Regions from separate parts of the Homo sapiens genome. Here regions 2, 3, 4, 5, 6 and 7 are each linked to region 1. Evidence: promoter capture Hi-C in 16 types of primary human blood cells and fetal thymus (Javierre and others, 2016). All regions are on one chromosome and are shown on one strand. The core of a region is centred on a gene start or on the middle of the fragment in contact, and the rest is flanking DNA. Distances in the headings are between cores, read along the strand shown. Region 1 holds the start of CDK4 (cyclin dependent kinase 4). Region 2 holds the start of LOC105369782 (a long non-coding RNA gene). Region 3 overlaps ZC3H10 (zinc finger CCCH-type containing 10). Region 4 holds the start of RNF41 (ring finger protein 41). Region 5 overlaps PAN2 (poly(A) specific ribonuclease subunit PAN2). Region 6 holds the start of BAZ2A (bromodomain adjacent to zinc finger domain 2A). Region 7 overlaps NACA (nascent polypeptide associated complex subunit alpha).

Region 1 (3,597 bases), core at 1-2,500:
CTAGGCCTCTTAGAAACTGGCGCATCAGATCCTAGTTTCAAAGGGGAGGTACAGATGCACTGGAAACTAGGCACCATACCTGAAATCCCAGAAGGTTCTACTACAAAGGTCCCAATCCACCTCTCAATGCCTACCAACCCCACTCACCTTGATCGTTTCGGCTGGCAAGCCTGGTGGGGGTGCCTTGTCCAGATATGTCCTTAGGTCCTGGTCTACATGCTCAAACACCAGGGTTACCTTGATCTCCCGGTCAGTTCGGGATGTGGCACAGACGTCCATCAGCCTGACCAGAGTAAATGCTCACTTTTCAATCCCCTTTAACCCAACATGGCCTCTCATTATTTCCTCAGGGTCCCCACTTCTCTACAGATCATCACACCCCACCTATAGGCTGTCTTTTCCCTTTACTCCCCACGCCCAACCCTCCACCACCTTCTCACCGGACAACATTGGGATGCTCAAAAGCCTCCAGTCGCCTCAGTAAAGCCACCTCACGAACTGTGCTGATGGGAAGGCCTCCTCCACCTCCTCCTCCATTGGGGACTCTCACACTCTTGAGGGCCACAAAGTGGCCACTGTGGGGATCACGGGCCTTGTACACTGTCCCATAGGCACCGACACCAATTTCAGCCACTGGCTCATATCGAGAGGTAGCCATTCTCAGATCAAGGGAGACCCTACAATCACAGACTCCTATCACCAAAAGTCGCTTACAGAGTTAGGATGGTATGAGCCTGCAGCAACAAAGGGACTCCCAAAAAAAAAGCGCAAAGAACACCACCAGCATCCCATCCCCCGCTCCCAGTCTTCCTTGGGGCCGGCCCCAGAGATAACACAATGACTCAATACCAACCCCTCCAGCCACGTGAGGCCCTGCAATAGAAAACGCTTTTTCCTTTGGGACAATCGCGCCCCGCACAAAGATCACACATGACACATGCCTTGCATCGAAGATCCTACACCTCAGTCCCTAAAATTATACTTTCCCATGACCACAAAGGCCCCACTTCCCGCCCTTGAGCGACCCTTCCATAACCAGCTCGCGAAACGAACGCGTGGAAAGCTGTGAGGGGGGCGGGCACTGGTTCTCATTCCTGGGAAGGGACTGCACTTACCTCACGCCAGCCCGGGGTGCTGTGGGGGCGGCCCGTTATCGGGGCCCCGGAGCCGGTTCCTACGGCCCCATACACCCGAGCTCGGTCCGGAGCAGCTGGACGCAGAGGGCCCGACCATAGACACAGGCCGCAAGCTAGAGAGGCCCCCTCACCCCCACCCTCACCATGTGACCAGCTGCCAAAGAGGCGCGCGGAAACTGGGAGGGCGGGGCGAACGCCGGACGTTCTGGGCACGTGACCGCCACCCATGCGCTGAGGGGCGGACAGGAGGTGCTTCGACTGGGAGGAGGGCGAAGAGTGTAAGGGGGCGGAGGGGCGATGGCAGCCACGTGATCTGTTGCTATCACACGTGACCGCTTGACATTGCTCTGAGGAGCAGAGGTGTGGCTACGCGGCGGGCACGTGACTGGCTGCCACAACCCCCGCTGCAGGGGGGGAGCGGTGAGGGGGACAAGAGAGGGTGGAGCCCGAGGCGGTGCCATGGCAACCTAGGCCACCCAGAGCCCAACTCCCGGCTGAAGGATTGTCTCACTACCGGTCTGAAGGCTGAACTCCAGTCTCACTACCGGTCTTTCAGCCTGTCTGCATTGGGGAGGGGGTGGGAGTTGGGGTACCAGAGGTGATGCTGTCACCTTTTCGCTCCACCATGAGAAAACATACTCTCATTTGTGTCATTGTTTCATTCATTAATTCTACAACATTTTACTGAGTGCTTGCTTCCAGTGTGTATGTGGGTTTTTATTTTGTTTTTGGTGTCTGTCACTGGCCCTTTAAAGTAGTGGTACGACTATCTATAAAGATGTAGCCAACAATGGGGTCTTCTACAATAGGGAGTAAACAATGCCCATTTGAGGGCAAAACTACGATTAAAGGATGACGGAAGGCAGATTAATACAGTAATCCAACAGGCTCAGTGACAAGGTAATCCTCTCACTTTTCCAACTTCCAAACCTCCCTGGGAGTGTTAATGCAAAGACCTGAGGCCATCTGGCAGAGAAGTTATTGATGAGCAGGAGACAGGAATACTTGACCTTTTAAGTTTTTTTTTTTTTTCCAGTAGGAAGGTTCTATGATTATGTGATATTTGTATGTGTGCATATATGCTTCTATGTATATATGTATGTATATGATATTATTTATCACATCATATATAAGACGGATACAGGATTGCACATGTGCAAGAAAGTTACCACCACACCCCCTGCACCCTCCAGACCACCACAATGAATGAAAATGACATGCCCCCTTCTGCAAACCTTGTGACTACTCATTTGGAGTTATTGTGCTTCCCTCTTTTTCCCTAGTGCCGCTTTCTTAGCACTTAGCACTGTCCAGAACACACTTGTTCCCAAATGGCCTCTGCCCAGACACCTAGGTAGACACAAGTAGATTTCTCCTACTTTGTTTTATTGGCTCCAAGGTCTTTATCTCCCAGCCCTTTGGGGGTATGGGAGTAAAGGAGGAAAGCGGTTAGTGTCTCATTTGTGAGAATTTGTCTAAAATCTAAAGCCATTTTATTACCCTATTTGCCACTCCTTCCACTCTAACTTCTGTTTTCCTTAACCATCTGGCTGAGAATATAAGAGTTCAAACTAGAAGATGAATATAAACCATGACTTAGAGCAAAATAGAATACATATTAATACAGATGCCTCCTCTTTCCATCCTGATACTTGTAGCCCTGGGCCCCTCCTGGCAAGGGCAGCTGGAACACTAGTAAGAAAAACCTCAAGGACTGAACTGACTAAGGGGCTCAAGAGGTGAATGTTTTATTGGCTACCTTGCTAGGGGTGGGTGCTTTGTAAGCCTTCTGGAAGGCTAAGATAATTGTCTGTGAGTTTTTCAAACTCCCTTCCCACACCAGCATTCCCCACTTCAGCCTCACCTTCCACATAAGACCTTCACAGCTTACTGTCTTTGCAACAGAAGACGTCCTCTCTGTCTGCTTGGGTCCCAGCCCCTTTTTCTGATTCATTCATTAGTCCATCCAAAACATTTGAATACTTCATGGGAACATTACTGTCTCTCCATCACTTTCTATTGAGGAACCTTAATTTGGCAGTCTGTCCCAGGCTCTGTCCCCTCCCTTCTTCTGTTAATTACTCTTTCACTAATTAAATTTTTTCCCAGTATGTTTGACCCAATGAGCTCCCCTGGAATCCCTTTTCCCTCAGCTTTGCAAAGGGGAGGAGAGGGAGAATGTAAGTGTAAGAAAGAAAAAAATGTGATGGGGGTAGAACTTGGCCTCAGAGGGAAGTCTCCATAAAAGGAAAGGGGTAAGTGTGTGTATTGTTCACTTCAGTGTAGTGGAGGTGAGGGCAGGAGAGTACCAGGAAAGACACTCCCATCCCTTTAGCACGCCTACCTCCCCTGCTCCCTCCCTCACCTCCTTCACACATTACAATCACAGGCTTCTGTTTCTCAGACAATCCGATTCCATTCCTTACACACCTCTCTTTCCCAGTCCCCATCGATCACACTT
Region 2 (3,597 bases), core at 1-2,500, 1.6 Mb before region 1:
GCTGGGTTATGAGTACATGGATGTGGGGTCAGACCTCAGTGCCTCTCTGGGCAGCACACAGAGTTGCCCACTCCACCCTGTACCCATCATGCCCACTGCAGGCACAACTCCAGATGAAGACTATGAATATATGAATCGGCAACGAGATGGAGGTGGTCCTGGGGGTGATTATGCAGCCATGGGGGCCTGCCCAGCATCTGAGCAAGGGTATGAAGAGATGAGAGCTTTTCAGGGGCCTGGACATCAGGCCCCCCATGTCCATTATGCCCGCCTAAAAACTCTACGTAGCTTAGAGGCTACAGACTCTGCCTTTGATAACCCTGATTACTGGCATAGCAGGCTTTTCCCCAAGGCTAATGCCCAGAGAACGTAACTCCTGCTCCCTGTGGCACTCAGGGAGCATTTAATGGCAGCTAGTGCCTTTAGAGGGTACCGTCTTCTCCCTATTCCCTCTCTCTCCCAGGTCCCAGCCCCTTTTCCCCAGTCCCAGACAATTCCATTCAATCTTTGGAGGCTTTTAAACATTTTGACACAAAATTCTTATGGTATGTAGCCAGCTGTGCACTTTCTTCTCTTTCCCAACCCCAGGAAAGGTTTTCCTTATTTTGTGTGCTTTCCCAGTCCCATTCCTCAGCTTCTTCACAGGCACTCCTGGAGATATGAAGGATTACTCTCCATATCCCTTCCTCTCAGGCTCTTGACTACTTGGAACTAGGCTCTTATGTGTGCCTTTGTTTCCCATCAGACTGTCAAGAAGAGGAAAGGGAGGAAACCTAGCAGAGGAAAGTGTAATTTTGGTTTATGACTCTTAACCCCCTAGAAAGACAGAAGCTTAAAATCTGTGAAGAAAGAGGTTAGGAGTAGATATTGATTACTATCATAATTCAGCACTTAACTATGAGCCAGGCATCATACTAAACTTCACCTACATTATCTCACTTAGTCCTTTATCATCCTTAAAACAATTCTGTGACATACATATTATCTCATTTTACACAAAGGGAAGTCGGGCATGGTGGCTCATGCCTGTAATCTCAGCACTTTGGGAGGCTGAGGCAGAAGGATTACCTGAGGCAAGGAGTTTGAGACCAGCTTAGCCAACATAGTAAGACCCCCATCTCTTTAAAAAAAAAAAAAAAAAAAAAAAAAAAACTTTAGAACTGGGTGCAGTGGCTCATGCCTGTAATCCCAGCCAGCACTTTGGGAGGCTGAGATGGGAAGATCACTTGAGCCCAGAATTAGAGATAAGCCTATGGAAACATAGCAAGACACTGTCTCTACAGGGGAAAAAAAAAAAAGAAACTGAGCCTTAAAGAGATGAAATAAATTAAGCAGTAGATCCAGGATGCAAAATCCTCCCAATTCCTGTGCATGTGCTCTTATTGTAAGGTGCCAAGAAAAACTGATTTAAGTTACAGCCCTTGTTTAAGGGGCACTGTTTCTTGTTTTTGCACTGAATCAAGTCTAACCCCAACAGCCACATCCTCCTATACCTAGACATCTCATCTCAGGAAGTGGTGGTGGGGGTAGTCAGAAGGAAAAATAACTGGACATCTTTGTGTAAACCATAATCCACATGTGCCGTAAATGATCTTCACTCCTTATCCGAGGGCAAATTCACAAGGATCCCCAAGATCCACTTTTAGAAGCCATTCTCATCCAGCAGTGAGAAGCTTCCAGGTAGGACAGAAAAAAGATCCAGCTTCAGCTGCACACCTCTGTCCCCTTGGATGGGGAACTAAGGGAAAACGTCTGTTGTATCACTGAAGTTTTTTGTTTTGTTTTTATACGTGTCTGAATAAAAATGCCAAAGTTTTTTTTCAGCTTCCTGTCTGTCAAATGAAGACATTTCGTATGTTAGATAAGAGATCTGCTCCTCAGCAGTGGATACTCACCTTTCTGTGTTCTGACAGTGCTACTCTGTCCCATGCAGCTTTCTCTAGTCCTACTATTACTTCTATTTCTTTAGAACAACCATAGCGCATAGTCCTTTTCATTAAGGGTTTTAGTAGGAATCTACAAGGCAACCAATTGGGAATAACAAAAAGAACCTACGTGCTTTAGGACTTATAAAAAGCCCTATAAGCCCTCCTTCAGAGGCCAAACACTGAAACCTCCAGATGCTTCTGAATTCATTATCTTAGAAAAGTCATCAAATCTTTTTATTTTTTCACGGTAAGAACTCTCAACAAACATGTCTTTCTGAACACTTCCCTTAGGTGCTCCATCCAGGTGCCTGTTATTGGAACAATAAAGTCATGTTACTTCATTAGGAGTCCGGCCTCTAGATTGCGAGGCCTTTAAATGGATGATCCCTCCGGTGTCTGGCTGCCCAGTTAGCCCCCGTTACCAGCACCCTTGGTCTTCTTCCACCTGTCTGCCCCTCCCTGTTCTCCCAGCTTCGGAGGACGACTGGACCGGCTGGGCGGGTTTCGCCAGCCGACCCAGGGATCCGAAGAAGGGCGCACCCAGCCTCCCCGACCTAGGTGTAGACACTGCCCACCCGCTGCGGCTCCACTCTACTCCACCCCTGCCCGCTCGACTTTAAACCTATTTCCCCGCCGTAGCTCCGCCCCTCTCCCCTCAGCCCGCCCCTCTCTGTTACTGGCTCTCGCTCAGCGTTCTCGGTGGAAGTGGTTTTTCCGGGAGAGACCACGCTTCCCCTCAAGCTCCCCAACGGCTCCGCCTTCCCGCCGGAGCCTGACCCTTCCCAGAGTGCCCGGCGATTCCGGCGTGCGAGGCCCTTGGAGGGCAAGGCCCCAGGGCCTGGCTTAGGAGCGCGAGAGGCAGGCTGGGAATTGTAGTTCGAAGGCCCTCGAGAGCGGCTAGAGTCTGGCGGCCGAGAGGACTAGTTGTCCCAGCGTGCCCTGCGCCTCAGCCCGCGCGCTCGCAGCTTCTCGCTCTCGCCTGCCTGCCCGCTCCCTTGCTTGCTCGCGCTTTCGCTCGCCCTCTCCTCGAGGATCGAGGGGACTCTGACCACAGCCTGTGGCTGGGAAGGGAGACAGAGGCGGCGGCGGCTCAGGGGAAACGAGGCTGCAGTGGTGGTAGTAGGAAGATGTCGGGCGAGGACGAGCAACAGGAGCAAACTATCGCTGAGGACCTGGTCGTGACCAAGTATAAGATGGGGGGCGACATCGCCAACAGTGAGTGCGGCCTCGGGGGTCGGGGAATCAAGGCTGATAGGGAAAGGTAACAGGCTGGCCCGGAAGGGGCTGGAGCGGAGGGGTCATGCGGACTGAGCTACTGAGGGGCCCGCACCGGTCCGCTGGGCACGGCGTGGTGGGAAGACCCGGTGTCGCGCCTGGGACCTGAGCGGGCAGGCCCAGGCTGAAGTCTATGGAGGTGCGGGTCGGCGACCAGGATGAGCGCAGAGAGGGGACCCTGGCAGGCTCCGACCCGAGGCCGTTTGTTAGGAGGCAAGACGTGTTTTCTCTTGTTCCTATCCTTCATTCCCGATTATTGCTTCCTCTGATTCTGGCAGCGGCGAGGCCACCTCGAAAAGGAAGCGCCCAGCTATTGGCGACAGAAGTGCCCCTCTGTTTTTGTAGCGTCTCCGGGGCGTCAGGAGCCAAGCCGGCACGTGTTGCTGGGTCCCAT
Region 3 (3,597 bases), core at 728-3,227, 1.6 Mb before region 1:
GGGTGGAGGAGGCACTGGTGGGGGCTCAACAGGCTCAGTCCTCCCAGGACGACGTCATGATCTCTATGATATCTATGACCTTCCTGACAGGGGCTTTGAGGACCATGAGCCAGGCCCAAAACGCCGGCGAGGTGGATGCTGCCCCCCTGATGGCCCTCATTTTGAGTCATATGAATATAGTTTGGCTCCACCGCGAGGGGTGGAGTGCAGACTGCTAGAGGAGGAGAATGCCATGCTCAGGAAGCGGGTAGAGGAGTTAAAGAAGCAGGTCAGCAACCTGCTGGCCACCAATGAGGTACTACTGGAACAAAATGCTCAGTTCCGCAATCAGGCCAAGGTCATAACCCTGAGCTCCACTGCACCAGCGACTGAGCAGACTCTGGCCCCCACTGTGGGCACTGTTGCCACTTTTAACCATGGCATTGCCCAGACTCACACTACTCTCAGCAGCCAGGCTCTACAGCCTCGTCCAGTGTCCCAGCAAGAACTGGTGGCCCCTGCTGGAGCTCCAGCTGCTCCCCCAACTAATGCTGCACCTCCTGCTGCTCCACCACCCCCACCCCCACACTTGACCCCAGAGATCACGCCACTGTCAGCTGCCCTGGCTCAAACAATTGCCCAGGGAATGGCACCTCCACCTGTCTCCATGGCTCCTGTGGCTGTATCTGTGGCTCCTGTGGCCCCTGTGGCTGTATCGATGGCCCAACCCTTGGCAGGAATCACAATGAGCCACACCACCACTCCCATGGTGACTTACCCTATCGCTTCCCAGAGCATGCGCATCACGGCCATGCCACACTGATGGGGCTAATGGACACTCCCCTGGTATAGCCTCGCAGGGCTGGGGTCAGGGGGCCCTTGCCCACTCACCTAGCCTTCCCCATCCCTGTCTGAAGGGCTCCCTTGAGAACTAGGACAAGAGACTACAAGGAGTATGTCCTGAGGAGGGGTTGGGATGGTGTGTTTTCTCTCACCTCCCTTTTATGAGGGTCCTCTTGTCCATCTTCAAGCCTCACAGTGGGGGCTTGCAGAGGAGTGCAGACTGAAGCCAGCAGAGAGGAAGGACTGACTGAGGGGCTGTGTCCTCTTATGGGAATTTGGGAACATCCCTCGTCTTGTCCTCTCTTCTGCACAGCACAGGTTCCAGCACTGGTTTTAGAAGAAAAAAATACCCTGCCCAGAGGGAAAGCCAGGAAAGATTGGGAAGTGGGTGGTCAGGAGAGAAGGCCTGATAGGAGCCTTCAGACAATTTGGGTCCTAGTTGCTTGGGTTGGACAATACAGGAATTGCTTCTGGGCCCTGGGAAAGCTGGGACCATAGTGCTCCAGCCCAAAGACTAGGGGAGCATTCATTACCCTAGTTTGACCTGAAAATCCATAGGGCAGGGCCCACTACTTTCCAAAGAAATAAAAGAACAATTATTTTTAACAAATGGAGGCAGTGAAAACTTGCTTAGCTATTCTGTGTGGAAGATGGGAGCAGTAAATAGATCTCATGCCAAAATGGGATAAAGACCCCAGCCTCACATAGCTTTGGTAAGATGGATAGAAGCCAGTGAAGAAGGGTAGGGACCCAGAACAAGACCAAATGGGGCTTTGGGGAAGGCACTTTATGGGGTAAAAGCTTTGGAGCCACCCAGTCTAGTTTTAAAAATAGTCCCATCTGTTTCTGGTCTCTGTCTGTATGTGCTATTCCCAGGTTGCCTCAGTAACCAGGGCTCCTAGGGTCATTTAGCAGGGCAGGCAGTAAGGAGAGTGTATTTGCTGAAATGCGGATGGGATGTTACATAGTTGACAGATCCTTATTCAAACAGAGCAGGACAGGTGGAGTTGATGGCCATTGAGTTGATGGCAGTTGCCGCTCAGTTGATGGCAGTTAATGTCCCTCCTACCCCACCCCTTCAGTGGCCAGTTCCTGAAGCCTTCAAGGCTTGGGAGGTCTGGGAAAAGAGAGTCCTTCTAGGGACACAAGCCTCAGGGTCCATCCCTTTCCTCTGTCTCCACATAGGACCAGAAGTTTTAAATCTACTTAAGTCAGTAAGGCCAGGGGCCCCAATAGTCAAACCTCAGTTCCTCCTCAGCTCACGGCTGATGTAGGGAAAACAACTCAGGTGTCTAGTCTAATGGGACAGTAGATTTGGGGGTAGAGAGTGATCCTGGATTGTGTTCCCCCTCATCATGTCTCCTGCTACCTCTTGCTTTCTTGTCTGGTTGATCACTCAGGTCACATCTGGGATTGGAGATGGTGGGCTAGGTCAAGGCCAGTCATTAAAAAAAAAAGCCTAAAGACTAAAAGTGGGCTAACATTGTGGATTTTAGAAACAACACATTGATAAGCTTAATGTTTTTTGGGACACAATTTTTTTTTTTTTTTTTGAGATGGAGTCTTGCCCAGTCACCAGACCGGAGTGCAGTGGCGCAATCTCGGTTCACTGTAACCTGCGCCTCCTGGGTTCAAGCGATTCTCTTGCGTCAGCCTCCCGAGTAGCTGAGACTACAGGCGCCCGCCACCACGCCCGGCTAATTTTTTTATTTTTAGTAGAGACGGGGTTTCATCGTGTTGGCCAGAATGGTCTCTATCTCTCGTGATCCGCCCGCCTCAGCCTCCCAAAGTGCTGGGATTACAGGCATGAACCACCGTGCCCGGCAATTCTAGACTATTAAAAGAGATGGTTTAAGAGCATTTAGAGAAGAATGTAACCATAGATACCAACATGAATTCTCAGTCAAATCCTGACTGACTTTATTTCCTCCTTGCCAGGTTATCTCCAAAGAGGTAGATTTGGGAAATTTTAGACATTGTATGTCTTGTATGTATTTACTCCAGCTGAAGACCACCAAGAATACACCTGGTAATTGAGCAAGTTGGGTTTAATGCTCATTGCAGTGAGGGGGAGGGCTCACCATTGGGGATAACGTGGTGTGTCTCAGCATGAGGGTGTTAGGAACGACTTAGAGAACTTAGACTTTGGTTAAGTGATTTTGGGGAAGATTCAAGAAAGTGGGTGTTCTTTTGGATTGGGTGCTGTTAAGGGAATCCAGGATAATTGGGTAGCTTGTCTAGAAGAAGGGCAGACAAGTGAACCTAAGCACAGTCGATGATGAAGTCACTCACTAGCTGGGAAAGGGGATGTTTGCTGTTTTGTGGTTTGCACACTGACCTTGTTTTGTGCTTAAACAAAATTGTGTAGTGATTTTGTTTTTTGTCTCACTTCATCGCAGTCACTGAGTGACCTTGTCTGATGCTGGTGTTTTGTGAGATTGTTTGTGTCCAAGAGAACTCATTGGCTACCTGTGAGCACCAGGTCAGCCCTAACAGCTCTGAAGCCTGGCTGTGTCAGGCCAGTTCCCAGATTACAGGAGCTACTTTCCTCTCTCTCACCTGCTAAGTCATCACAGATAAGAGGAAAATTACGGGTCAGTTAATCGTAGCATTTTTTCCATGCAAATGGCTCTGGTTAAAAAATAATGAGAAAAAAATAGTAGCATTTGGTAGAATCAAACTGAACACTTGTACTTAGTGTTGGTTAGCGCATTTATGTTAGAGAAATCTCTGTTCTCTAGTGATAAGCCCAAGGGCTATGTTTTATTGTAAAAA
Region 4 (3,597 bases), core at 595-3,094, 1.5 Mb before region 1:
TGTTATCCTCAAGTAAGATTATTTGTAGCAACAGAATACAAAATAAGGCTGGGTGCAGTGGCTCATGCCTGTAATCCTAGCACTTTGGGAAGCCGAGATGGACCAATCACCTGAGGTCAGGGTTTTGTTTTGTTTTTTTTGGCGGGGGGTGTGGGGAGACAGAGTCTCACTCTGTTGCCCAGGTTGGAGTTCAGTGGTGGAATCTCAGCTCACTGCAACCTCTGCCTCCTGGGTTCAAGCAATTCTCCTGCCTCAGCTTCCCAAGTAGCTGGGACTACAGGTGCATGCAGCCATGCCCCGGCTAATTTTTTATATTTTTAGTAGAGACGGGGTTTCACTGTGTTGCCCAGGCTGGTCTCGAACTTTTGAGCTCAGGCAATCCGCCCGCCTCGTCCTCCCAAAGTGCTAGGATTACAGGCGTGAGCCACCGCGCCCGGCTACAGTCAGAGGTTTGAGACCAGCCTGGCCAACATGGTGAAACCCCATCTCAACTAAAAATACAAAAAATTAGCCAGGCATGGTGGCAGGTACCTGTAATCCCAGCTATTCAAGAGGCTGAGGCAGGAGAATCGCTTGAACCCAGAAAGAGGTGGCACTGAGCCGAGATTGTGCCACTGCACTCCAGCGTGGGTGACAGAGTGAGACTCCGTTTCAAAAAAAAAAAAAAACAAGAATGCAAAATAAATTTAGAGTACTGAGAGTCGGAGAGGAAATGCTTGACAAAAGCTTGTTCCTTCTTTTTACTAGAAGGCAGGGCTAGCCACAGGTCGGTCGGCTTAACATTGCATCACTCACATTCCCTACCACTAGTCCACTACATTCTTATTTGGGGCAAAACTATCAGCCAACAACACTATCAGTCTCTTGCCCTATTGTCAGACTCTAAAACCCCTGTATAGAAAGGGATAACACTATCACGGGCCAGTCCCCAAGAACAGTGGCCTCAATAACAGCCCCACTTGCTATTAAATGAAATGAAGTTTCTGAACGGGGAAGCAGTCTGTCAATCCCTCAAGCAAAACGCCTTCACCCCTCCTGGCTTTCTGCTCTTCCTCTAGCCCCCTCCTCCCCACTACCCAATTTCCCAAAGTCCTGAGTTAGGGAAGGCCTTCCAGTGTGTGGTGTGTGAACCCTGCCAGAGAGCCAGGCTGCAAACCAAGCGCAGGGATGTGAAGAATGTGAGATTCCTTCATGGAGGGCTGGGAGGGGGTGAGGAGCGGGGAAGGAATGAGAGGACAAGGCTGCCAACGACAAGGCATGGGAGAGGAGCCAAGCTATGGCGCTTCGAGGGCGGGGGTTTAGGTTCCACCGCCCCTGCCCAGGCTGGCCCCCGGAATGCTCCCTTCCTCCCCTTCTGGCCCGTCAATCATTGCCCATTTAAACACCACGCTGTTCCCCCAGTTCTGCAGGTGCCGGTCCTCCAGCTAGCCCCGGCCCCCTCCCGCACTTCTCAAAGCTCCCCTATTCCAATGGACCTTCCCCAACAACCCGTTCTCCAGAGCCCCCTTCTCACCTCCCGACTCCTCGCCAGTGCTGCTCCCTTCTCACATTTTTATCTCTACCACCATCCCTCCTCCTGAACCCCAGTTATTTCAACCCCCCGCCCCAATACCCCTGGGACATCACCTCCTCCCCTCCCACACCCTCTTTTAGGTGGAAGATCGCGCAGGCGCAGTACGCACCGCCCTGGAAGCGGCCTGGAGTCTCCGCAACCTGACCCAGTCGGAGCTGAGGCCGCAGCGGCCACAGTACTGCCCTGGTGCCGGGTCCCAGCCTCTCCCGGGAAGGGAAGGGAAAGGGGAAGGAGGGGAAAGAAGACTCCTACCACTCGTCGCCGCCTCAGACGGATCCTTTGCCCCGCCCACCGCTGCTACGCAACCCGGCGGAAGCTCGTCACCAAACCCCGCCTCTTTGTTTAACTCAGCCCCTACACCAGCAGCCAGGAGCTGCCTACGAGGAGGGACGAAGGCTGGCCAGGCCTCCACTCTAGACAGGAAGTCTAGTCTAGAGTCTATATGGTCCCAGCCAGGACTATGTAGCCATTTAGGAGGGAGAACTCTATGTTCTTCCCGGCAAAAACGTGTGGGCCTGGCCGGCCACGCTTCGCTTTGGAGGGGTGCAGGTGACTTGTGTCTTAGAGCTGACGCAGATTGTTGCGAGATCATTGCGGAGAGGCAGGCCTGCAGCGTGACCTGCTGCGGGTCCGGCCCCTCTCCCTTTTCCAGAGCCCTGGTCAGCATCCCAGAGCTTCGTAACCCCTTGACTCCTGTCATGGGAATGGATATTGCAGTTAACAAGGCGGCCGCGGGGTGGGGAGTGAGGGAGTCTGACCGCAAAGCTTAGATCTGGGGTGCTCAACGGGTTGTCTGCCTCTCTCCCAGGCGCTCTCCTGCCGTATCCACGATGGCTCCCCGAACACTTGTGGAGTTCCCTGAAACACCTAAGAGGAAGGAAGGGAGAAAAAATTTCCCTCTTCCTGAGTTGGGGTTTGATTTCCTTAGCTTACAACACCGTGGTGTTGGGGATGTGGGCGGTAGAGAACGTGGGATCCAAGGGAAGTCAATGTGGAGCCTAAAGAGCTCCGTGAGCAGATAAGGGATTAATTAAGCAAACCAAGGCATTACAATCACATGACTTCCTAGACTAATCTGGTATTAAATAGTATGGTATTTATTGTGGACATTGGCTAAGCAAATGCTAATGCACATTAATACACACATACACACATATCTTTATGTAATTTGTTTATACACAACAATACAGAGCTAGCTACCTTTTGTGGACAATTTGACAGGTCCCAAAAGGAACTAAAGTTTCAGGCCTCCTTTCTGCTGTCTTCTAGCGGGACTCTGAGATAAGTAAGATAAGAGTAGTATGGCCGGGCGCGGTGGTTCATGCCTTTAATCCCAACACTTTGGGAGACCGAGGCTGGTGGATCACGAGGTCAGGAGTTTGAGCCCAGGCTGGCCAACGTGGTGAAACCCCGTCTCTACTAAAAATACAAAAAAAGTAGCCGGGCGTGGTGGCGGGCGCCTGTAATCCCAGCTACTCGGGAGGCTGAGACAGGAGAATCGCTTGAACCCGGGAGGCAGAGGTTGCATTGCAGTGAGCCGAGATCGCGCCACTGCACTCCAACCTGGGCGACAGAGCAAGACTCCTTTGCCGGGGTGGAGCGGTGGGGCGGGGCGGGGAAGAGTAGTATGGCCAGGTGCAGCGGCTCACGCCTGTAATCCTAGCACTTTGGGAGGACGAGGTGGGCGGATCCCTTGAGGTCATGAGTCCGAGACCAGCCTGGGAAACATGGCGAAACTGTCTCTACAAAAAAAATACAGAAATTAGCCGAGGGTGGTAGTGCGAACCTGTAGTACCAGCTACTACGGAGGCTGTGGTGGGAGGTTGCAGTAAGCCAAGATTGCACCACTACACTCCAGCCTGGGTTACACAGCGAGACCCTGTTTCAAAAAAAAAAAAAAAAGGGACTAACAATGTTTCTCTCTTTGTCGCAGGTTCCATTTCTTCCAAGAAGGGTGAGCCTGCCTTTTGTCTCTGGTGTAAATGCCACTTTTCCCAGAGACCTTGACCAAGCTGGGTAGTGCA
Region 5 (3,597 bases), core at 1,098-3,597, 1.4 Mb before region 1:
GGCTCCCGAAACTACACCTGGCTGCAGGGAGCAGGGCTGTCCGGGATTCTCCAGAGCGCTTCGCCGCCTGCCACACACGGGGTGTCCCGGCGACCGCCTGACCCAGCTCCCCTGACGCTAACTGGTACCTAAGCGGGACTCCAGCGTGCTGCGGTGCGAGCCCCAATCAGACACCGACCCCAAACCCGCCCCTCCAAACTCTCGCGCGAACAGGCAGCTTAGGAGAGGCTCCCGAACAGCAAGGACCCCGGTCAATCGCCGAAGGACCCAGACTTGCGTGGCGAACAGATCCACGTGACCACCAGGGGTCAGCCGTAGAATAGGAGTGGCCTTAAGCGACGACAGAGTCCGGGCGTGCTGTATGGGAGCGGCTAGTCGTGCGCGTGAGCCAGCCCAGGTGGGCTAGGACCTTCAAAACGGTGCGCTGCCGGCCAGCGAGCAGTCCAGGTTTCAATACACAGGAAACTACATCTCCCAGGAAGCACCGCAGCACCGGACCCATCTTTGTGAGCAACTACAAGTCTCAAGCTATCCTGGGACCTGTAGTTTGTCGGCTTACACAATTAACGGAAACCATACTGTACATCTTCAGTCTGACTTAGGGTACTGGGCAGCTATAGCAAAGACCCAGCATTGCCCAGAAAAGGCATAAATTATACCTTTTTCCCCTTTTTTTGAGACGGAGTCTCGCCCTATCGCCCAGGCTGGCATACAGTGGCGTGATCTCGGCTCACTGCAACCTCCGCCTCCCGGGTTGAAGCAATTTTCTGCCTCAGCTAGGGTTACAGTCGCCATCCACCACTCCCAGCTAATTTTTGTATTTTTAGTAGAGACGGGGTTTCACCATCTTGGTCAGGCTGGTCTTTAACTCCTGACCTCGTGTTCCACCCACCTCTGCCTCCCAAAGTGCTAGGATTACAGAAGTGAGCCACCGCGCCCGGCCTAATTATACCCTTTCATATCCATAACTTTGGATTCCGGACCTTTACCTTCAAAGGAAGGAGAGGAAGACTGAAGCCAGAGAACCCACACTAGCAGTTCTCTAATGAGATAAATAACAAACGATATTTTATTTTTATTTTATAAAACATGCAGTTTACAACAAATTTTTAAAAAATGGAACAAAACTTGGGACAGGCAAGTGGGATGGAAGACAGATGCTTCTCAGCCATCAGCAGGAATAAATGAAGCCGGCAGCCAAGCTTTGTCCAGGATCCAAAGGCCCTTTTGGCAATGGTATTGGCAACACTGGTTTGCTTGGGCCACCAACACTCTACTTGCTGGCCCCTCCAGGTATCCCTGAAGCAGTTGGTGACTTGTGCTAAGTCTTGAACTACTGTGGTATCCTCTGTCACTGTCCAGGACTTCAATCCCTAGCCAGCTAGGAACTTACAGTTATGGTTCCAGGAGCTTCTCTGCCTGGATATTAGTCACCCAGGATATTAAGAATACCAATTACTTTCCATCTGGGTCAATTCTAGACTCCATGTCTGTACCACTGTTTTGCAAAGAATGAAGAAGGAATGAATCTGGCTCCTAGAACCTTTGCAACAATTCTGCTGTGTTCCAGTTCAATTAATAGCACCATCTGTGACCCTAGACCCTGAGCACGTCCAGTACTGGAAGTGGACAAGGTATAGCCAACTTAGGAAGCCATCTCCCAGTTCTGGGGCTATAGAACAGTAAAGGGAGAGGGCCGTGGTTCTTTGGGAAGGGTAGTCAGAGCGCCAGCACTGAGGAGAAGACAGCTGCATCTGTCAGAGACAAAACCAAAAGCATGATTCAAGCTGAGTGGAGAAAAAGCATCTTCTCATACTTCCTATGAAGGAAAAATGCAAGAGAAAAAAGGGCATGGACCTTCCCTGAACATTTTAGACTTGGGCAAGAGGAAGTTATAGTTAATGGAGAGTTTCGATAAAATGTATTTTACTGAATGTTAGGAGGATGAAGTGCTTTGTAAACTGTTAAGTGCTATTCTCCATATGTGCAATCAAAATCCACCCAATTGGGGGCGCTCAGGCTCATGCCTGTAATCCCAGCACTTTGTGAGCCCAAGGTGGGTGGATCGCTTGAGCCCAGGAGTTTAAGACCAGCCTGGGCAACATGGCAAAATCCTGTTTCTACAAAAAGTACAAAAATTAGCTGGGTGTGGTGGTGTGTGCCTGTTGTCCCAGGTACTTGGGAGGCTGAGGTGGGAGAATCACTTGAGCCCAGGAAGTCGAGGCTGCAGTGAGCTGTAATCACGCTACTGCACTTCAGCCTGGGTGACAGAGTGAGACCCTGTCACAAACAAACAAAATACAAAATCCACCCAGTCCAGTTTCCCTTGTCCCATCCCAGGTCTTACTCTTGGGACTTGTTTGGCCCTCAGGCTCAGGCACCTTCCAGTCCATCTTTCTGCCCTTCTCATAAAGACCCTTGAGCACCTTGTGGAAAGACTCAGGCTCAGTGCCATTTTTGCTTAGCTCCAGATACTTTCGGTACAGCTGAAGGGCTGTGCGGGCATCCTCAATACTGTCATGGGTTTCCCCTTGAATCTTCAGGTCTGGGGTAAGTAAAGGTGGAATAGTTTGGGACCCAGCAAAGGGAGGTAGGAACATGTCTCCCCACTCCTACCTGACTCCAGAAAACTAAAAAGCCTGACTGCCCTTAAGGAAAATTGTCAGACATCTTCCTCAGTGCACAGAAGGGATATTGAAGTTAATTAAATCCATTAGTAACTGTCACCACTAACTGAGGGTCTCCCCTACTCCCATTTTGTCCTCTAACACTTTTCCTACTTTTTCTTTTCCCCCCATGCTTTTATTTTTTATATTTAAATTTTATTTTAGATTTGGGGTACATGTGCATGTTTGTTACATGGGTGTATCGTGTACTGGTGGGGACTGGGCTTCTGGTATCCCTAATATGCAAATAGTGAACTATGCACCCAATACGTAATTTTCAACCCTCACCCCTCACCCACCACCCCAACTTTTAGAGTCCCTAATGTCATTCTTATGTCCATATGTACTCATTGTTTAGTTCCAACTTATAAGTGAGAATATGTGGTATTTGATTTTCTGTTTCTGAGTTAGTTCACTTAGTATGATGGCCCACAGCTCCATCCATGTTGCCGCAAAGAACATGATTTCTTTTTTTTTAAATGGCTGCTTCTGCTATTAATGTAGCAGGGGCCTACAAGGCAGAGCAACTCACCCAGAAAGTACCAAGCAAGGAATCGCAGGGAAATCATTCGTTTTCGGGGCATATGGAACAGGTAGACAGTGTCAAGGACTTGGTCCTTGGGCACCTGGCAAGGATAAAAGAGGGGGAGACTTAAGGTAGGGGACCTATAATTCCCCATTCTCTAAAGGCACAATGTATACCCTGAGGGGCCCACTCTCACAAGAAGACTCTTAAAAGAGCCCTGCCAAACCATCAGGTTGATGACCCGGAAGTCCTTCTGCAGGCCATGACCCACAAACTTGACTCCAATGTCAATGAGAAAACGAAGCTTTAAGTAGGTAGACTTGAGAGTTGTTAGGTGCTTGGAGGAAATTTTGGCATCGAGGTCACCAGGCTTTATACCCGAGTATTGAGTCAAGTAATCCACCA
Region 6 (3,597 bases), core at 709-3,208, 1.1 Mb before region 1:
CAGCATCAAATCAACCCCATCAGACAGCAACTTAAAGGAACTAATCAGGGGCAAGAAAAAGGATGCTGACATCAGATGGACTTGTTTTTACTGTTTCCAGAATATCAAAAACCCCAACAGCCCCAGTGAGAAGAGCAATGATGCTGCTATCTTACTAGTGATGATGCCACTTTCACACAATCATAAGTGTCTATCTGCTCCCATACTGGATCTTTAATCTAGGGATCTTCATCTAGGTGGGAGGGGTTTTTGCCTGGAAAATAAATAGTGAAAAGATGATTTAAATGACAGGCTTACGTAGTTTTCAGAATAGTCCAAATAATCTGAAAATGTTATCTTTCAAGGCTTGGCCCTGTGGCTTATGCCTGTAACCCCAGCACTTTGGGAGGCTCAATTCGAGTTCGAGACCAGCCTGACCAACATGGTGAAACCCCTTCTCTACTAAAAATACAAAAATTAGCCAGGCATGGTGGCGCATGCCTGTAATTCCAGCTACTGGAGGGCTGAGGCAGGAGGATCGCTTGAACCTGGGAGGCGAGGGTTGCAGTGAGTCCAGATGGTGCCACCGTACTCCAGCCTGGGCAACAGAGCGAGACTCCATCTCAAAAAAAAAAAAAAAGAAAAAGAAAAAAACAAAACTTTATCTTTCAAAATCTAAAATCCTGTGGTCCTGGGGTCATAGGCCGGGCATGGTGGCTCATGCCTGTAATCTCAGTACTTTGGGAGGCTAAGGCAGGCAGGTCACTTGAGCCCAGGAGTTCAAGACCAGCCTGTGCAAACTGGCAAAACCCCACCTCTACAAAAATTACAAAAAATTAGCTGGATGTGGTGGTGCGTGTCTGTGGTCCCAGCTACTCAGGGGGCTGAGGTGGGAGGATCACTTGAGCCAAAGAGGTCGGGGCTGCAGTGAGCTATGATGGCGCCACTGCACTCCAGCCTGGGCATCGGAGTGAGACCCTGTCTCAAAAAAAAAAAAAAAGAAAGAAAGAAAGAGAAAAGAAAAGAGAGAGAGAAGAGAAAAAAAAGAAAAGAAGAGAAGACCAGGCATGGTGGCTCACACCTGTAATCCCTGCACTTTGGGAGGCCGAGGTGGGTAGATCACCTGAGGTCAGGAATTCGAGACCAGCCTGGCCAACATGATGAAACGCCGTCTCTACTAAAAATAAAATAATTAGCTGGATGCGGTGGCGGGCTCCTGTAATCCCAGCTACTCGGGAGGCTGAGACAGGCAACTCGCTTGAACCCGGGAGGCAGAGGTTGCAGTGAGACAAGATCACACCACTCCAGCCTGGGCGACAAAAGCAAAACTCCGTCTCAAAAAAAAAAAAAAAAAAAAAAGACAGAAAGAAAAAAAAAGAAAAGAAAAAGAAAAGAAAGAAAAATAAAATTCTGTGGCCAACTGTTGCCCCTAACCAAATCCAGTGTGCCACAAAATGCCTGGGGACATAGCACACAGTCCATCACTATATGTTACAGGAGAAATATCCTGGGATTATCAAGTGAAAAGAAAGAAAAAAAAAATCTGGGCACGACTTTGCAGGGAACAGAGGAAAAGCTTACCAATCTCCAAGAAGAATAAGAGGGGAGACGTTCTTTTATGGATTAAAGAGTAAGTCATATGATAACAAACTGTACTATTCTAATTAGTTGATTCTGCAGAAGGTAGTATCTCCAGCACCCCTTAGTCAAATAACAAGCTTCCCACAGGGGCTGCCCTTAGGCTAGAATCACCACCAAGGACTGAGTTCACCAATCTCAGTCTGTTAATCAGTCCCTACCCCCGACACACAAATCCATCTAATAGTTAAATCTTCCTCACCCCTTCCTCTTCGTCCATTTCTTAGAATCTACCCTTCTTCACAAGCTCACTTGCTCAGGTGCTCTGCAATATAGAAACTGTCATAATAACTATACTAAAGTAGGACCCCAAGAAGCTACTCGTGCCACAAAAGCTCTCTAGTCTCCCTGACAGCTCTCTATGCTGAGGGAATTTGCATCACTTACATAGAGCGTACCCCGCTGGTAGATAACTGAGTTTGCTTCTCTATGACCTCTAGCTAAAGGGAAAACAAAACGAAACCAGACAGGAAGACAGAGATGTTCTGGAGAAGGGATTGGGATACGTGAGTCAACTGAAGTTGACTACTTCCAGTTGACAAGTTTACAAAAAAAAAAAAAGTCCAACGAAAGGTCTCTCGGGCCACATGGTTGGCAAGATCCAAGCTTGCCCAGAAGGCTTCAGAAAATGAAACCAAATCTGATTAAAATGGACATTTCAAAACAACAAGACACGCAGCAGCAAACGCACAGCTGCCATTTCCCGGCCACTTCCTGCGGGAGGCTGGGGGAGGGGCTGTTTGTGTACAGATAGAGGTGGAAAGCTATCCCCTCCGTCGTCCCCCAAAGCAGACAAATCTCTCACTCCAATTAACCCTACAAAGGACAACTGCTATTGACATTGCCTTCTCCTGAAAACTGGGAACACCGGGAAAGAAAGGGATGATGCGGTATCATCTTTCTGCCACGGAAGCGGGGATCCCCTCAGTGAGGAATCTCCTTGGAAAAAGGAATTCCTCTTTATTCTTCCCTTCTGCCCCTCAGCCCAGCTCAAATTGGAAAGCCTCAGCGGAAGCCCTATCAACCTCCATCCCCGGAGTGCGCGATTCTCCCGGGACGCGAGGGCCCCAAGCCAAGCGCAGCACCACCCTCAGCAAGGAAGGCCCTCTCCTGATCTTCACGCTCAAGAGAATGGGTGCGCTCCCCGAGGGAGACACCCTCAGACCCCTGGAAACCCCTTCCGCCCTCCACTCACCACAGTCAAAACGCCCAGCTCCCCGCAAACGGAGCGTTTTAACCCGCCAAGGGAACCCCCTCACCCACCCCTCGCGCTCAGGCAATCCCCACCCCCACCCGAGGAGGTGGAGCCCCTCCCGGGGATTCCACCCCAAGTCCCCCACAGGAGTCATCTCCACCAGCCAGGCGGCTTCTCCGCCTCCTCACTGTCGCCGGGAGCCCCTACAGCTCCTCCTGCCCCCGCGGCCCCGTCCGGGGTCCTCAGCAGCCCCACCAGCCCTGTTCTCCTCCCAGACCCCAGAGCAAGGAGACCCTCGCCTCGGGTTGGATCCTCGCAGGAAATAAGCTCCCGTCGGCTTCCCGCCCCGGCAAGGCTCAAGCCGGCTCTGGAGCTTCTGTTCCCCGAGGGAAGCCTCGGATGAAAGCGGGGCTCCCTCCCCCTCAGGCCCCTGGCCACAGACCCCACAAACCTGAGGCAGCGGCGTCCAGCCGGGCTCGGGGCTCGTCTCTCCCCGGGGTACAAGCGGTTCACATGGCCGCGCTCCGGGCGCCAGAACGGGTGGAGACGCCCGCTGGGGAGGGGGTCTGGGGTCCGGGGTTCGGGAAGGGGGAGGGGGACGCGGCTCAACCGCGGGGCCCGAGAGGAGCCAACATGGCCGGCGGGGGAGGAGTGAGTCGGAGCCGGAGGGGGCGGAGAAGCCTCGGCCGGGAGAGAGTCTCCCCACGCGGCCTCCGCCACAGGGTCCTAAAGCCCGCCAGCCCATCTTTCCGACCCGGACCTGGGTCCTAGCGCCGCTGTGCCTC
Region 7 (3,597 bases), core at 423-2,922, 1.0 Mb before region 1:
AAGGGCTGGCTGTAGTTGTATAAGTTGAGGTACCTTTGGCAGTTGTGGGAGCCACCCCGGCAGGGTCAGCACTTTCCAAAGGAAATGCAGCCACTGTTGGGGTAATGAGAGAACTTTTGAGAAGCGGACCAGCAGAGTCTGGGCCTGCATAAGAATCTGTCTTGATTACAGAGGCCGAGGAGTTAACACCCAGAGGGGAGGTCATACTGCTGGCTGGCTTACCTATAGGGAGAGGCTCCCCAAGGCTTTTCTTTGCTAGGGTGGCTTCAGGAGAAAGAGGTATCTCTGGAGAAGAGGATGTACTTTGGAAAGAAGGGGAATTTTTAGGGGCTGCCTGGACTAACGGTAATACAGTAGGGTCTTTCTTGGTGGTGAGTCCTGCTTGGGCTGGAGAGAAAGGGGCTCCTTCAAGAGAGGCAGGTACAGTTTGGAGGTCTTTTTGTGTTGGAAATTTAACCAATACTGAACTGGGGAGATTTTTGAGGTCTTCAGGGTCTGGCAGAGGAGGAGAGACTGGTATCCTCAGAGTGGTTGCTACTTGAGTAGAAGGCTCTTTGGGAGCCACAGGTGCCATAACCAAGGCAGCAGGGGAAGTTGGTTCTATGTTACTTATGGGACCTGATGACATTGGAGGAGAAACACAAGTAGCTACCTCAAAGGTAGTAGTAGGTGCTGCAGCAATTGTACAGGGGTTAGTCACCACAAGTGGGGTGGTTCCAACAGAAGAAACGGGCATTTGGGCCACTAAAGGATAATGATAAGTGGCATTAGGAGAGCTTTTGAGAATGAGAGAGGTTGTAGGAGATAATGAAAAAGAGGTAGCTACATTTAAGGAGCCAGAAGGGCTGCAGGTTATGCTAGAGATGGTAGAGGGACCTTTGTCAACAGATGGAGCCACCACTGGAAAGGCAGCCACAGTAGCAGGAACTACCTCATTTCTGGAAGGAAGGGGAGGAATTACAGATCTCTGAGAAGGATAAGAGGCCCCTGTGGAAGAATGATCTACAGAAATGGTCTTCACTGTAGGGTCTGACAAAGCACTAGGACCTGTTTGACCTAAAAGTTGGACAGAACCAAAAGAACTCTGATGTAAAGGTGCAAGATGAGAGCCCAGAGAAATGGGAAAATCTGGGGGGGTGTTGGGACCCGCAGTCTTTTGAGAAGAGGTCACCACAGGAAGAGACTGAGTTGAAAGAGATAAGGCAGCAGGTGGACTAACAGGCCCCTTCAGGCTGAGGCTTCCTGGGTTTTGTGGAGAAATCAGAACTGAGGAAATGGTGGTATCTTTGACTTGAGGGGAAGCGATGGCTAGGGTAGTTGTGGGTGTTGTCTGAGGAAGGGAGGCCACTCCAGATTGAATAGAGGCCATGGGAGTCACACAGTGGTAAGGAACAGTACTGACTATACATGGAGGGCTGGGGGTGCCTTTTGGATTAGGGACTACCTCAGAGGGAACTTTATTAAGATTAGTCTTTGGTTCTGAGGGAGCAATGGGAGCTGACAGAGTTATCACTGACCCTGACTCAGCTACAGCCACTGAAGGAGGTGAAGTAAGAAGGTTAGGTGGAAAAGCAGAACTCTTCTGAACTGAGTGGGGAGCCAGGGCAACCAGAGCTAAGGGAGCTGAAGAGGAAGGGGTCCCTTTCAGAGTTGGAGCTATCATGGGAGAGGCTAGAGCTAAGGCAGCTGGGGAGATGGGAGGCCCTATTAGGTTTGGTAGGAAGGTTGGGGCTTCAGGGGCAGTTCCCAAAGGTAGGGCTGTTCCAGAGGATGACTGGGGAAAAGGAACTTCTAAAGGGGTCGAGGCAATAGTAGAGGGGGAAGGGAATGGGGAAGCCTGGTTAGCAGCTGAGAGAGGGCACTGTTGTGGGGCAGGAGAGCAAGGAGGGGGGAGGGTAGGTCCAGGCTGCCCTAAGGCAGCAGTGACACTCAAGGCTGAAGACATAGGTAGCACAGCTGGAGAAAGGCAAAAGGAGATAAAGAAAGGGGGAGGGGGAGGAGAAAAAAGGTGAGTTATGCAGCCCAACTTGGTACAACATGCCTCCTAGGAAACACTGGAGTTTAAAATCTGACAGTCTAAGTCACCACGCAGGATTAGATAAAGGTGACAGGCAACAACAACCTTCCCCAAACATTTTTCAGTGGTCAAGTGAGAAGACATTCCCCTCCTAATTTCTCACACTTCCCCAAGTTCTACCAAAGTAAACCAACTATTTTAGGGTGAGGAGAACAGTCTAAGAGCAGCCTATCTCTAAATGGGGAGCACAGACTCTTGGTAGGTTGAGAACAACATGCTTTCTATCCTTTCCCAGTTGTGCCCTCCCCTTACTTCTTGAAATGGACTGTATTCCCAAGTCTTTCTCACAGCCAACAGAATTCCCACGAGAAGAACAGCTGTGCTACTCTGTCCACCCAAATATCATGAACAGAAAAGATACTGAAAACTGGAACAAAGAAGTTAGTGAGCAGTGACGATGATGGGGAATCTGAACTGAATAAGAAAACACAGGCTTTTATACTTTCAGGCTTCCACTAGGCTAGGAAACATCTGACTCTGTTAGAATAGTTTTGGGAAGGAGGTGCACAGCACAATTCAGTTCTTCCTAAAGTTGAAACACTTCAGAATTTAATATCAAGTATTAAAGTCACTTAGCTTCTTTATACCTTACCAGTTTACTTACTCACAAAACCCAAACAAGAAAACCAACCACAAAAGGACTGTAATAGTCTCTATAAACCTTCCTAGGTGATGTTAATTCTTCAGACATCAATCCAAGATGAATTAGACATGAATTAGACCTCCAGGCAGAGAGCTTACTCACAAGGGTAGGGACTGTATTATGAAACTGTAACCTAACTTGTTAAACCAGATTGTGGTGCTATTTTGGAAGAAGAGAATTGGAGAGCCTGTAACAGTGGCTCATGCCTGTAATCCCAGCACTTCGGGATGCCTGGGAGGGCGGATCACGAGGTCAGGAGTTCCAGACCGACCTGACCAACATGGTGAAACCCCGTCTCTACTAAAAATACAAAAATTAGCTGGGCGTGGTGGTGTACACCTGTAATACCAGCTACTCAGGAGGCAGAGGCAGGAGAATGGCTTGAACCCAGGAGGTGGAGGTTGCAGTGAGCCAAGATCGCGCTACTGCATGCACTCCAGCCTGGGTGACAGGGTGAGACTCCGTCTCAAAACAAAACAAACCAAAGAAGACAATTGGAGTGGCGAGAATACACTGGATCCCCACTCCTTAACTTGGAATTTAAGTGTTTCATTATGTCAAAATACACCAATGTTTGGCATGACAGTAAGACAGTATCTCTGGCATTCAGGAGGTAACACAGAATTGGATCAACAAATGCTCAATGCTTAGAAGGGAATGTTAAGGGGGGCGGGGGGGAAGCCCGTGGTACCAAAATTCAAATTCAAAATTCACTCAACCAGTAATTCTGAAGTTCTTATGGCATCCTACCATGGAAAAGACAAGGTGGCTCAACTAGTTTTTCCTGGAGAGTGGGTAGGCCAAAGTCTAACGATTACAGGAAAACGCTACCAAACATAATGAATCAGAATTAAAAACATGGAATATGTTTTCTTCT

Evidence for each region. The method cuts DNA at HindIII sites, captures the fragments that hold promoters and counts their contacts. A CHiCAGO score of 5 or more calls a contact.
Region 2: a contact is called between a fragment that was not itself captured here and the fragment with the promoter of CDK4 in region 1, in 1 of 17 cell types (monocytes). The highest score is 13.5, in monocytes.
Region 3: a fragment that was not itself captured here is called in contact with the fragment with the promoter of CDK4 in region 1 in 2 of 17 cell types (monocytes and non-activated CD4 T cells); the score reaches 6.7 in monocytes.
Region 4: the fragment with the promoter of RNF41 here is called in contact with the fragment with the promoter of CDK4 in region 1 in 1 of 17 cell types (M0 macrophages); the score reaches 5.8 in M0 macrophages.
Region 5: a fragment that was not itself captured here is called in contact with the fragment with the promoter of CDK4 in region 1 in 2 of 17 cell types (monocytes and non-activated CD4 T cells); the score reaches 9.0 in monocytes.
Region 6: a contact is called between a fragment that was not itself captured here and the fragment with the promoter of CDK4 in region 1, in 3 of 17 cell types (total CD8 T cells, fetal thymus and non-activated CD4 T cells). The highest score is 8.0, in total CD8 T cells.
Region 7: a contact is called between a fragment that was not itself captured here and the fragment with the promoter of CDK4 in region 1, in 1 of 17 cell types (non-activated CD4 T cells). The highest score is 5.1, in non-activated CD4 T cells.

What each region holds. Positions count from the first base shown.
Region 1 is chr12:57,751,060-57,754,656 of GRCh38, forward strand. It overlaps CDK4 (cyclin dependent kinase 4), which reads right to left and starts at 1,251. Exons shown (of 8, transcript NM_000075.4): 1 at 1,116-1,251; 2 at 441-677; 3 at 148-283; 4 at 1-31. The coding sequence starts at 658. RefSeq lists silencers at 401-540, 1,271-1,350, 1,581-1,700 and an enhancer at 877-1,610. The HindIII fragment of the contact is 8,675 bases long and covers 1-3,597 here.
Region 2 is chr12:56,101,683-56,105,279 of GRCh38, forward strand. It overlaps ERBB3 (erb-b2 receptor tyrosine kinase 3), which reads left to right. Exons shown (of 28, transcript NM_001982.4): 28 at 1-1,823. The coding sequence ends at 373. LOC105369782 (a long non-coding RNA gene) reads right to left here and starts at 2,737. Exons shown (of 2, transcript XR_944995.4): 1 at 2,606-2,737; 2 at 2,132-2,236. PA2G4 (proliferation-associated 2G4) reads left to right here and starts at 2,877. Exons shown (of 13, transcript NM_006191.3): 1 at 2,877-3,143. The coding sequence starts at 3,056. RefSeq lists enhancers at 2,572-2,921, 2,932-3,151. The HindIII fragment of the contact is 842 bases long and covers 830-1,671 here.
Region 3 is chr12:56,121,066-56,124,662 of GRCh38, forward strand. ZC3H10 (zinc finger CCCH-type containing 10) reads left to right here. Exons shown (of 3, transcript NM_032786.3): 3 at 1-3,597. The coding sequence ends at 802. Among named protein-coding and RNA genes, the nearest start is that of ZC3H10, 4.6 kb to the left of the region's middle. RefSeq lists an enhancer at 90-1,087. The HindIII fragment of the contact is 713 bases long and covers 1,622-2,334 here.
Region 4 is chr12:56,220,078-56,223,674 of GRCh38, forward strand. RNF41 (ring finger protein 41) reads right to left here and starts at 1,845. Exons shown (of 7, transcript NM_005785.4): 1 at 1,683-1,845. It also overlaps a transcript of NABP2 not described here. RefSeq lists enhancers at 1,767-1,816, 1,803-2,737, 2,037-2,256, 2,738-3,597, 3,088-3,382. The HindIII fragment of the contact is 1,612 bases long and covers 725-2,336 here.
Region 5 is chr12:56,315,890-56,319,486 of GRCh38, forward strand. PAN2 (poly(A) specific ribonuclease subunit PAN2) reads right to left here. Exons shown (of 26, transcript NM_014871.6): 23 at 3,419-3,597; 24 at 3,199-3,292; 25 at 2,348-2,545; 26 at 1,047-1,754. The coding sequence ends at 1,720. CNPY2 (canopy FGF signaling regulator 2) reads right to left here and starts at 99. Exons shown (of 6, transcript NM_014255.7): 1 at 1-99. RefSeq lists enhancers at 84-672, 173-222, 303-452. The HindIII fragment of the contact is 2,294 bases long and covers 1,201-3,494 here.
Region 6 is chr12:56,626,862-56,630,458 of GRCh38, forward strand. BAZ2A (bromodomain adjacent to zinc finger domain 2A) reads right to left here and starts at 3,465. Exons shown (of 29, transcript NM_001300905.2): 1 at 3,264-3,465. RefSeq lists an enhancer at 342-843 and a silencer at 3,052-3,401. The HindIII fragment of the contact is 526 bases long and covers 1,696-2,221 here.
Region 7 is chr12:56,719,504-56,723,100 of GRCh38, forward strand. It overlaps NACA (nascent polypeptide associated complex subunit alpha), which reads right to left. Exons shown (of 9, transcript NM_001365896.1): 3 at 1-1,956. Among named protein-coding and RNA genes, the nearest start is that of NACA, 4.0 kb to the right of the region's middle. RefSeq lists an enhancer at 1,313-1,432. The HindIII fragment of the contact is 4,291 bases long and covers 1-3,597 here.